Regions from separate parts of the Homo sapiens genome. Here regions 1 and 2 are each linked to region 3. Evidence: promoter capture Hi-C in 16 types of primary human blood cells and fetal thymus (Javierre and others, 2016). All regions are on one chromosome and are shown on one strand. Each heading gives the region's core, a stretch centred on a gene start or on the middle of the fragment in contact. The rest is flanking DNA. Distances are from core to core; before and after follow the strand shown. Region 1 overlaps MARCHF6 (membrane associated ring-CH-type finger 6). Region 2 overlaps MARCHF6 (membrane associated ring-CH-type finger 6). Region 3 holds the start of LINC02213 (long intergenic non-protein coding RNA 2213).

Region 1 (4,242 bases), core at 1,587-4,086, 160 kb before region 3:
AGACAAGTTTTTGTTTGTCTTAAATTCAAATTTCTGGAAGCTACAATCTCACTGGCTCATCTTGGGTCAGTTGCTTATCCTTTTGATCCAGGTAGCTGGGTGGTGGTGGGAAAGGTAATGGAAGAATAAGAATCATGACTGGCTGTGTCCATTCTTGAGCTGGTAAGACAGTGCAAAAGAGATCTGCTATATTGCTCAATTAGAATACTTTTTAGACTGAAGCCCTGTGAGTGATTATTGCTGGGCTATCCTCTTCCAGATGCCTACTTCCCATTTCTTCCAGGCCAGGCTTACTTTAGTGGGTTTTACTTCTGTCCTGTAAGACTATGAAGATCACTTATTTTTAGTATAATACAGTTAGAACAGAAAGAGTTCTTGAAAAGTGAATAGGAAGTAAGAACCCCCCAAGGGAAAACTTAATAATTCAGACTATATTTTAGAATGCTGTTGCAGTAGGCTAGATGAGATATAGGAGTTACATTAAGGTAGAGGGAATGGAAAGAATGGAAAAGAAGAAATAGACCAAGGTAGAATTAATAGAACATAGTAATTGAAGAGGTAATATAAGGAGGAGGAGTTAAAAATGATTGATTTTTATATTATTTCAAATGGGAATGGAAAGAGATAAGTAGTTCAGTTTTAGATATTGTTTTAGTTTGCAGGGGCTGCTGTAACAAAGTACTACAGATTGGGTGCTTAAGAGAAATTTGTTTTCTCAACTCTGGAGGCTAGAAGTTTGAGATGAAGGTGTTGGTAGGCCTGGTTTCTTCTGAGGTCTCTCTCCTTGGCTTGTAGATGATTGTCTTCTGTGTCTTCATGTAGTCTTCTCTCTGTATGTCTTCATGTAGTTGTCCCTCTATGTCCTAATCTCTTCTTTTTTTAAAGACGCTAGTCATATTGGATTAGGGCCTACTCTAAGGACCTCATTTTAACTTAATTACCTCTTTAAAGATCCTGTCTCCAAATATAGTTACATTGTGTATACATGCAGGTTAGGGCTTCAACACGTGAATTACGGGGGGAGGGGCAGTGCAATTCAGCCCATGATAGACATGAATTCTTGAAGGCTTGGAAGACTGAAGCATTCCCTGTACACTTATTTTTTATAACTTAACTTCATTATAATATCTTTTTTTTTTTGAGACGGAGTTTAGCTCTTGTTGCCTAGGCTGCAGTGCAATGGCGCGATCTCGGCTCATGGCAACCTCCGCCTCCTGGATTCAAGGGATTCTCCTGCCTCAGCCTCCCGAGTAGCTGGGATTACAGGCATGCACCACCACACCTGGCTAATTTTGTATTTTTAGTAGAGATGGGGTTTCTCCATGTTGGTCAGGCTGGTCTTGAACTCCTGACCTCAGGTGATCCGCCCACCTCGGCCTCCCAAAGTGCTGGGATTACAGGTGTGAGCCACTGTGCCTGGCTGTAATACACTTTTTACTTTCCTGTCTCTCTCCTTCCCTTCTGTCACCTCTTAATGTATTCTGTAAAGATGGAATCAGGTTAATAAAGTATAATTTACACACAAATTTACCCTGTTTAGGGTGCAGTTCTGTTATAACACTTTTGAAATAGAATATTGGAGATTCCATGTCTTTTTTGATTACTTCCCCATTTACCAAATATTGGGTACATGTCTACTACGTATCTAGGACCTGTGCAACAATGTTTTCTGCATGTTTCATTTCTTCATTCCAAGTCCTTGAAAAGTGCCAAGAGGCATTTCTATTGAATGGAACAGTTTGAAGAGCATTGATGTAGCTAGAGTAGTGGTTTTCAAAGCTTTGTCCCAAGACCCCTTTACATTCTTAAAATTGAGGACCCAAAGGACTTTTGTTTATGTGGGTTTTATATGTAAAGATAGATATTTACCATATTAGAAATGAAGAATGAATACAAATTATTTAGAATATTTAAAAGTAACAATAAACTCAATATATGTTAATAAAAATAACGTTATCTGGATTATTATAAGACAATTGGATTCTCATCTCTCCCTTTGCAGTCACTTTGTTAAGTGTTTTGGTTAGTGTATATAAAAACTCGGCATCACACAGATTTATAGCTTGAAAAGGGATGAATATTTTCAGATGTTTGTATGTTCTTTGATACTATGTCAAAACTTGACAAGTGGTAGTTTCTTAACGTATCTGAAAACATGGCAGTCACCTTAAAAAATTAAATTAACTGTTAAATTAAAATCCATTTGTCTGGTAGTGTAGGATAGAGTCCAGAAATAGATCCACACATACATGGACAGTTGATTTTTGGACAGAAGTGCAAAAGCAATTGCATAAAATATAAAGGATATCGTTTTTCAACAAATGGCACTGGAATAGTTGAATAGCTGTAGGAAAAAAAAAAGAACTTTGAGCTATAGCTTGTACCATATACCAAAATTAACTCAAAGGGCTGTTAGACCTCAATGAAAAACCTAAAACTATGAAACTTCTAGGGGAAAATATAGGAGAAATTCTTCGGAATCTTGGGTTAGACCAAGATCTCTTAGGTATGACTCCAAAAGCATGATCCATAAAAGAAGTGGATAAATCAGATGGCATCAAAATTCAGAATTTCTTTCAAAATTAGAAAGACACTTAACAGAATGAAGACAGGATACAGAAGATGTATCTTATAAGGGGCTTGGAGTATATAAAAAATTCTCAGAACTCAGTAATAAGAAAACAATAACTCAGTTTTTAAAATGGTCCAAAGATTTGTATAGACACTTCACTAAAAAATACATGTACATGGCTATTAAGCATATGCAAATATGCTAAGCATCATTAGTCAAAACCATAATGAGACACCACTTCACACCTGCTAGGATGGCTATAATCAGAAAGAACAGGTAAGTGTTGGTGAGCATTGTAGAAAAATTGGAACCTTCATTTGTTACGCTAGGAATGTAAGATAGTGTGACTGATTTTGGTAATTCCTCAAAAAGATAAGCTGAGTAACCATATGACCCAGAAATTTCATATACCCAAGAGAATTCAAAAAATATATTCACACAAAAACCTGTATATGAGTTAGCAGTATTATTTATAATAGCCAAATAGAAACAACCCAGTGTCCATCAACTGATGAGTAGATAAATGTGATCTATTTGTAAAATAGAATATTACCCAGCAGTTCAAAGGAATTAAGTACTGATGCATGGTACAACTTGGATAAATCTCATAAACATTAGGATAAGTGAAATAAGCCAGTCACAAAAGAACATATTTTCTATGATCCTATTTGTGTGAAATGTCCAGAATAGGCAAATCTATATATAGAGAAATTAGTGGTTGTCTGGAACTGGGGAGAGCAGATGGAGTAGGAAGTATCCACTAATAGTTACAGGGTTTCCTTTTGGGATGATGATAATGTTCTAAAAGATTATGGTGATGGTTGCGTAACTGTAAATATACTTAAAACAATTGAAGTCTTTAAATTGGTGAACTTTATGACATATATCTGAATAAAATTGTTAATTAAAACTACTGTGAGATATCATTACATACCTATTAGTGTGGCTAAAATGGTAATAGAATGACTGACCGTACCAAGTGTTTGTAAGGAGGTAGAGCAGTTGGAATTTTCATATACTGCTGGTGGGAGTGTAAAGTGGTACACCACTTCTTCTGGGGAGCAGAAAGCAACCTTCCGGGTACAGGTGAGCCAAGGTTGATGGGCAGTTATGCAGAGGGAGTTGGGATATCACTGTGTGTACCTGTGCAAGTCCTGGAGTGTGTTGGGTCCTCATCAGCAGGGCTGTATGAAGGTGTTCATTAAAACAAAACTACTGATAGTGTGGCAGGAGCTAGAAAACACCCCTTTCTTCTTAGATATCCCTCCAGCACCCTCTACTGGCAAAGTTTAACTGCCCCTAGCCAAAAGAAAAGAAAAGAAAAGCTTAGCATCCCTATCACTGAACAGGGACTGAAAGGGAGAATTTGGAGTTGAGAAGGGGATACATGGATAACTAGCTCATTACTGCTGAAATTGTTGGAATCATTCATTGCCTGTGCTGCTGAAGCTTGATGTTGCCCACAGCTGTTGGGCAGAATCTCCACCATGACTTGCGTATCTGTTAGCAGGAGTCTGCAGTACCTGCCATTAGCTGCAACTGCTGGTTTTTAGAAACAAGTAGAAAATGGTTTCGCTGTTTCTCTGCTTCTTCTTTATTTTTATTTTTGAGATGGAGTTTCGCTCTTGTCGCCCAGGCTGGAGTGCAATGGTGCGATCTTGGCTGACTGC
Region 2 (3,786 bases), core at 818-3,317, 140 kb before region 3:
AAAAATTAAAAAATTTGGAAAAGAAATTATCCATTAATTCTTAATACCATGGCTGTTATTTTGGTGTATCCTCTTCCAGGTACACGTAATTACCCATTGTTTATTTCTACCATGGAGAGCTTATTTTGTCCTCTGAAAGTGTTATGATTTTCTAGTTTTGCTTGGCATAATAGTAGCTTACATTTATGAAGTACTTTTTGCCAAGAACTGTTCTTAGTGGTTTGTACATCTCAACTCATTTTTAATCCTTATAAGAAAATTGTGATGAGGTGGAGTATTATTATTATGCAGATGAGGAAATTGAAGCATGGGAAGGCTAGATAACTTGTCCTTGGCCACATAGCCAGCCAGTTAGTGGCAGAACCAGGATTCAGACCTAGCTACCAGGTACCAGTATTATCAGACCAGGATTAAAACTGATGTTGATGCTTAGAGATTCTTTCATGTTCATTTTGCTTTGAGGAAATTACAGTTTTGATTAATTGAACCTTTTTTAATGGTAGAAAAATGTGTTGTTTTTATCTCTAGCTGTTGTAGTTTTTCATTCTTAGAAGGCAGTTACAAAAAGTTAAGAATATTCTAAATTTGAAAATTTTGAAACTAAAAGCTCTGTGATATATACATTTTTAATAAAAACAATGTTTTCGACAAAACTGTAATGTTTCTTTGCTGTAAACACTGTACTTATGAATCTATTTATAATTACAGCTTAGTTCAATGGCTGAAACACAGTCGAAAAGAATACTGTGAATTATGCAAGCACAGATTTGCTTTTACACCAAGTAAGTTCTTTAGACATTTTCACTGCATTTTTTTTGGTTATCACTCGTGGCATAAAGGTGTTTGATATGATCAGTTGACAGAGGAAGGGGGATAAAAGTGCTTAAGCACTTTAAAGCAATTATTTTCAGCTTGATTTTTTTTGATAGTAATAGGAAGTATTGATATTTAGGAAAATATTTTGAAAAACTGTATGCTGTCTTTTATCACACACATGTTTGAGATTTGTGGGGTGTTTTTTTTTGTCTTTAAAATTTATTTACTTTTAATTGTAGACAGGTTCGAACACATGCAAAAATCTAACAAGTCCACATGAACCCATCACTTAGTGTCAACTCATAGCCTGTCTTGTTTTACATACACTCTTGTTCCCTGCCTCTTTATCCTTTTATTTTTTTCTCTATTATTTAAAAAATAATTCTACCATTTGTAATTTCATCTGTACATACTTCAGTATGTATCTCTAAAAGGTAAGGGTTCTTTTTCAAAAACGTAACTATAATACCATTATCCACCTAGAAAAATAAACAATGATGCCTTGATTTCATCAAATATTCAGTACTCTTCAAATTTGGACTACATTTTGAGTTAAAGTTGTATAGGTTAGAATAATAGTCATAAAGATAAAGCTTTTTTTTTTTTTGAGACAGAATCTCGCTCTGTTCTGTTGCCCAGGCTGGAGGGCAATGGCGTGATTTCAGCTCACTGCAAGCTCCGCCTCCCGGGTTCACGCCATTCTCCTGCCTCAGCCTCCCGAGTAGCTGGGACTACAGGTGCCCACCACCACACCTGGCTAATTTTTTTGTATTTTTAGTAGAGACGGGGTTTCACCATGTTAGCCAGGATGGTCTCGATCTCCTGACCTCATGATCTGCCTGCCTCAGCCTCCCAAAGTGCTAGGATTACAGGCGTGAGCCACCGCGCCCAGCAAGCTTTTTTTAAAAAAATAATAAAAAATAGAGAGAGGGTCTCACTATATTGCCCAGGTTGTTCTTGAACTCCTGGCCTCAAGCAATTCTCCTGTCACAGCTTCCCAAAGTGTTGGGATTACAGGCTTGAGCCACATTGCTTGGCCAAACAAAGTTTTAAATTACCGTTTTTTTCATGAGGCTAACTTTTAAGGTCAATATTTCATAAGCCTTTATAAAATATTTTTGCAGCCTTTAAGGTTTTAACTATGATTCCTGTGCCTATTAATATTTAATATGTTTTATCTCAAATAAGTAGAGGACTGTGCTGGCAAGTTATTAAATATTTGAAGCATAATTTTTCATTCTGGGATCCCCTATATTGCCTTCCCTTACAAAGGATTTTTGTGTTTTAGTTGTGTGTGTGTGTGTGTGTGTGTGTGTGTGTGTGTGTTTAAGCATCTTGAGCTTCTCGATATAAATGCTGTAACTTAGTGTTTTACTTTGTTTTTATTTGATGAGTATAAATGATTAAAGTTATTACATTTTCACTTTTGGAGCTGTATATTCATCATAAAAAAGTCAATTCTGTTATTTTGTAGTCATTAATTTTCTGTAGTACGTAAAAGCTGTACAGCTTGTCAAGATTCATAGGAAACTAAGACTAACTAGTTGAGTATCTTCATGAAATTCAGTTGATAGGAAATATGTGGGCTTTTACTTTGAGGCCAATAGAAGCTTGTTTTGTACATTTTAATTTTCATTTGATAGTTACATTCTCTATTTCTTTTATCTTTTGCAAAAAATCTCTATTATTCCTGGTTTTAATGACTTGCTCTTGTATACCAGATATCCTATCGAAGTCAATGATCTGTGGGCATGTGCCATTAAAAGTTGCTATTTGTGGCCAGGTGCTGTGGCTCACCCCTGTAATTCCAGCACTTTGAAAGGCTGAGGCAGGCGGACCACCTGAGGTCAGGAGTTTGAGGCTAGCCTGGCCAACATGGTGGAAACCCTGTCTCTACTGAAAATACAAAAATCAGCCAGGTGTGGTGGCAGACGCCTGTAATCCCAGCTACTTGGGAGCCTGAGGCAGGAGAATCACTTGAACCTGGGAGGCGGAGTTTGCAGTGAGCTGAGATTATGCCACCGCACTCCAGCCTGGGCAACAGAGTGAGACTCTGACTCAAAAAAAAAAAAAAAAGGTGCTATTTGTCAGTTGTTTATTTCTCAATGTTTATAGGTGTGAACAGTTTTGTGATAGTGTTCTTATAAATTTTAGATCATTGCTTTTAAACCCTGATATATCATAATTTCTTGTTTTGGCCTTACTGGAGAAAGAATTGTTTGTTTTTCCTTTATGTTCTTTCCGAGCTACCTGTGGTAGAGGTTTTTGATAATAGGCAGTGGTTTTTTATTGGAACCATTTTAAAAGGGAATCCTTTTTAAATGTGGCAGAACTTTTCTTTTTCTGAATGTGTTGAGCCACATTTCTCAGAGTAGTGGGAAGATCTGAATTTATCATTTGAAATTTTAAGTATTATGCTAACATCGGGAAAGTGGCTAACAAATGTCAGTGGGATGTTTGCTCCCACATGAAATGATCTGCTGCGGACTGTTGTGCTTTTTGAGTGCTATTTAATGCTTATATTTGGGGGAGTGTTGATGGCTTGTTGTCAGCTTCATCTTTTGCTCCTGTTTGCTTTATTACATCTTTTATAGTTTGGGAAACCAGATGATTATATTGGTTGAATGTTAAAATGTGTGTAAATGGGCCTTGTATGAGGTTCATGGCTATTAGCAAGGGATGTGAACATCTATTGAATTTTTTTTTCCTGCCCAGAGGCCTTTGTTGATTTCCACGTTTCACATGTGATTTGCCTCATAAATGACTTCTTGGGTAAATGTGATATTATAACTATTTGGTTTATTTTTTTTAAATAGGAAAAAAATTAAGCACAAGGCAAATATTGGAAGTTTAGTTAATGTCTATTTTATATTTATGAATTAAGCTATTTTCGAATCTTCATGAAACTGTAAGTACTTTTTTTCCGCTTATAGTTTATTCTCCAGATATGCCTTCACGGCTTCCAATTCA
Region 3 (4,129 bases), core at 202-2,701:
ACAATCATGGCCGCACCCTTGCACAGAAGTCGTGGCTCCCTCCCTACTGGGGCAGTGGGCATCTCCTGGGGTCAACGCTCAGTTATGAATACATTGCTTAAACTTGATCGTTGTGAGTTTCACACCCAGTTGGGAAAAAAGACTGGTTTGGTCAGTTGGCATTTCAGGAGTATCTAAAATATTGAAGTGTATTTAATATTTCAGTGTACTAGCTCAAGCTTTTGTGTGTTTTCATAAAAAAGTTGCTGCCAAACATATTTTGAATACCATTTGTGAGGACGTATGGCTCTTTCCACGCCTCTCAAAGGCCAGGGAAAGCAGAGTTGGAGGAAACCTCCTTTCCTCTCCTTCTAGAGAGTCATTTAAAAGTAGTGAGTACTTTGAGAAAATGCTTTTGACTCTTGGTCCCTTTTTTTGAGTATTAAATCAATTATAGCCACACAGCAAGCCTGCATCTCCATTCTTCATCCAGGGGCCACCAAAAAAAAAATAAAGCAGCTGAACAAATATAAGATTCTGTACCATTTCCACCCCCTGGCCCCCCTGCCCCCCCGCCCCCCCCACAGCAGAAATGCTGCTTGTTTTTGGTCAATGGTCAAATGATAACCTGAAAGCTCAAGTTCCTTTTTTTTTTTTTTTTTTTGAGATGGAGTTTGGCTCTTGTTGCCCAGGCTTGAGTGCAATGGCGTGATCTCGGTGCACCACAACCTCTGCCTCCCGGGTTCAAGTGATTCTCCTACTTCAGACTCCCGAGTAGCTGGGATTACAGGCATGCACCACCACGCCTGGCTAATTTTGTAATTTTAGTAGAGTTGGGGTTTCTCCACGTTAGTCAGGCTGGTCTCGAACTCCCAACCTCAGGTGATCCGCCCCCAACCACCTGAGCAATTGCAAGTTGTAAGAGCTTTGGGTCAGAAATGCAGGTGTCTTCTGATCACCCAATTGCCGGGAAAGATGCCACAACAACACAAGAGGGAGGCCACTATCAGTTCCAGCGTCATCCCCACTAGTACCACTAGGGGGTCAGGCCACTCTGGCCACCATGGAATGCTCGTATGGTAGCCCTAAGTCATGGTTTTCCATTCACAGGGACAATGTGACCAATGAAGTAAGCAGTCAATACCTTTAGGACATCAAGGTGAACCATAATTGGGACACAGAAGTTTCTGGAAGAGGTAGGCTTGGGCAAGGCGGGTGAGCAGCAGGTTGTGTTTACCAAAAATGGCCATGATGCTGCCTTCTACACTCGTGTTCTTCTGCAGTGTGACTGTGTCATTCCCGCATGCAGAAGCAGAGTCTCTCCATCCCTGGGAACCCAGGGCTGGCCTGTGGCTCCCTTGTGACTGATAGGATGGAGTAGAATCGATGCCGATGATGTCCCAGGCTGGCGTAGTGCTACAATCCGAGGCCAGGGCAGAACAGGCCTGATGCTGAGGCCTGGTTCCCTTGGAACGTTCCCTTCAGGAAGTTCCTGCTCAGAACTCCGCCTCTGTGCTGCCAGAAGCCCAAGGTACAGGAAGCAGCCAGGCACTGGGGCTCATACACAGGCTTGGCTGAACCTGGCTTCCCAGGGCAGGGGTTAAGAGGGAAGAAGCCCCTGGAGGATGTCAGCCATGGCCATTCACAGCTTCCTGGCTGAGGCTTCATCCTCTCCAAACTCCTGACTTGCAGAATCCCTGGGCATGGGAAAATGGTTCTTGTTTGATGCCATCAAATGTGGGATGCTTGTTACGCAGCATAGATAACTATGGTAAACCCCGTGTCATGGGCACTGTTGGGTGATGCAGGTCTGGGAATGGGGACATTTGGTGAGGCAAGGCCCTTTGGATTCTGGTTAGGAGAGCGAGTTCTAGAGCTGCCTAGGTTCAAATCCAGTCTCCACCACTTACCAGCTCTGTGGCAGTGGGAAAGTGACTTAACCTCTCTGTGCCTTGCACGTCTTCCTCTGTGCAATGGAGGTGATAACAGTACACACCTGGGCAGGCTGTTTGAGGACCGAGTGTTGTTAGTGCCCGAAGAGCACCAGGCTCACGGGAAACGCTCATTCCGTGGTGTCACCTCTGATGGGCACAGGCCTAGGCCTCGACTGGACGGCTGGAAGACTGTGCAGGTCTAGAGGGTGCTTAGACTTGGCAGGCAATTGTATTTTTTTGTCTCACTAACTAAACTGGGAGAAGACAGTTATCTGTCTGTCTCTCATCATCTGTGCGTTGAGAATGTGGGGCATACAGAAAATGCTGTATTTTGACTGGAAGGAGTTGCAAGTTCCTGAAAAAAGCCTGCTGGTGGAATTGAGGCTGACATCAGGCCTGAGAAGGGGAGGGGAGGGCATTGGGGAGTGAGAGGGCTGGGCCTGGGCAAACGGGTTGGTATTGCTTTAGTGGGGTGCACGCACATGTGTGTGTGTGTGTGCACATGTTTGTGCCTGTGTGTGTGTGTCTGTATGTGTGTGTGAATAGAGAGAGGTGGCCCCTAGAAAGGGTGAGAGATGCTCAGTCAAAACTCAGATGTGAGCCAGATTTAGACAATGAAGGGCCCAGTAGGCCACACTCAAGCAAGGTTGTGGCAGGGATCATGATCTGTATTAGTCCATTTTCACACTCCTGTGAAGAAATACTCAAGACTGGGTAATTTATAAAGAAAAAGAGTTTAATGCACTCACAGTTCCACATGGTGGGGGAGGCCTCCCAATCATGGTGGAAGGTGAAGGAGGAGCAAAGGCACATTTTACATGGTGGCAGGCAAGAGAGCTTGTGCGGGGAACTACCCTTCATAAAATCATCAGATCTCCTGAGACTTATTCACTATCTCGAGAACAGCAGGGGAAAGACCCGTCCCCATGATTTGATTACCTCCCACTGGGATTATGGGAGTGATAATTCAGATTTGGGTGGGGACACAGAGCCAAATCATTTCATGATCCAAGCCCACATTAGCCAGGGCAGCGGGCAGCAGGGTGGGAGACGTGGGAAGGGCACAAAAGGAAACAGAGTCAAGTCTTCTTCCAGGTGTTCTGCCTGTGCTGGGGGGGCCCTCTCACACCACCTCCTACTCAACCTGCAGGGCTGGGCTGGTGCATCAAGAGGGAGGTGGAATCTCATTCTCCCTGTGTGAGTGCACATGGAAATGTGATTTCACTCCTGGTTTAACTTTTCCCTTGCCCTCCAGCCCTCAGCTTCACTTTTTCGGGTGACCAAATAATGACAATTTTCACATCGCCAGGTTTCCTTCAGCATTTGCTGACGGCCGACTGCCTTAGACACCAAACACATGTTATCCAGACGCCTGAAACGGCCATGCCCTGGGGAGCTGTTTAGTAGTTTTAAAGACCTTGAAAGGCCGGGTGCGGTGGCTCACGCCTGTAATCCCAGCACTTTGGGAGGCCGAGACGGGCGGATCACGAGATCAGGAGATCGAGACCATCCTGGCTAACACGGTGAAACCCCGTCTCTACTAAAAATACAAAAATTAGCCGGGCATGGTGGCACGCGCCTGTAGTCCCAGCTACACGGGAGGCTGAGGCAGGAGAATGGCGTGAACCCGGGAGGCGGAGCTTGCAGTGAGTCGAGATCGCGCCACTGCACTCCAGCCTGGGCGACAGAGCGAAACTCCGTCTCAAAAAAAAAAAAAAAAAAAAAAAAGACCTTGAAAATACTTTGATGAAAATGCTTCTGATGACAAGCACCTATTGTGCTGCAGATCTGTTGTGTGCCATCTGCCTTCATTAAAGACGGGGATGTGAGGGTTTTCCCATAAAGAATCCGAATCGCCACTGCTCTCTGGTTTGGCCAAAGAAAGAGATTTATATTATCATCACTTTTGGCTCCCAAATGGTTAAGCATCCTTGCGCCTTCGTTGGCACATAGCGGGTACTTAATAAACGTTTGTGGGATGAGAGTGAATGAATCACTAGATGGAAGGCACTGGCAGTTAGGAGGAGCTCATTAAAACCTTTCTAATGGAGATCTCCCAGCCTGCAGCGGCTGTGATGGTGAACACCAGCCATGCAAAGCGTATGTCTGCTTAGTACCCTGAGTCTACAAACCGGAGGGAAGAGAGCCGAGAGAGCAAGCAACAAGTAATGACTGCTGCCCCTCCACAATCCCACCTGCTCGGCCCGGCATCTGCT

The links. The method cuts DNA at HindIII sites, captures the fragments that hold promoters and counts their contacts. A CHiCAGO score of 5 or more calls a contact.
Region 1: a contact is called between a fragment that was not itself captured here and the fragment with the promoter of LINC02213 in region 3, in 1 of 17 cell types (neutrophils). The highest score is 5.8, in neutrophils.
Region 2: a contact is called between a fragment that was not itself captured here and the fragment with the promoter of LINC02213 in region 3, in 1 of 17 cell types (neutrophils). The highest score is 6.4, in neutrophils.

What each region holds. Positions count from the first base shown.
Region 1 is chr5:10,360,641-10,364,882 of GRCh38, forward strand. The region is part of intron 1 of MARCHF6 (membrane associated ring-CH-type finger 6); the gene reads left to right. Among named protein-coding and RNA genes, the nearest start is that of MARCHF6-DT, 8.7 kb to the left of the region's middle. The HindIII fragment of the contact is 2,118 bases long and covers 1,778-3,895 here.
Region 2 is chr5:10,378,051-10,381,836 of GRCh38, forward strand. MARCHF6 (membrane associated ring-CH-type finger 6) reads left to right here. Exons shown (of 26, transcript NM_005885.4): 3 at 709-782; 4 at 3,750-3,786. Among named protein-coding and RNA genes, the nearest start is that of MIR10397, 22 kb to the right of the region's middle. The HindIII fragment of the contact is 714 bases long and covers 1,711-2,424 here.
Region 3 is chr5:10,520,633-10,524,761 of GRCh38, forward strand. LINC02213 (long intergenic non-protein coding RNA 2213) reads right to left here and starts at 1,452. Exons shown (of 3, transcript NR_134289.1): 1 at 1,124-1,452. The HindIII fragment of the contact is 13,630 bases long and covers 217-4,129 here.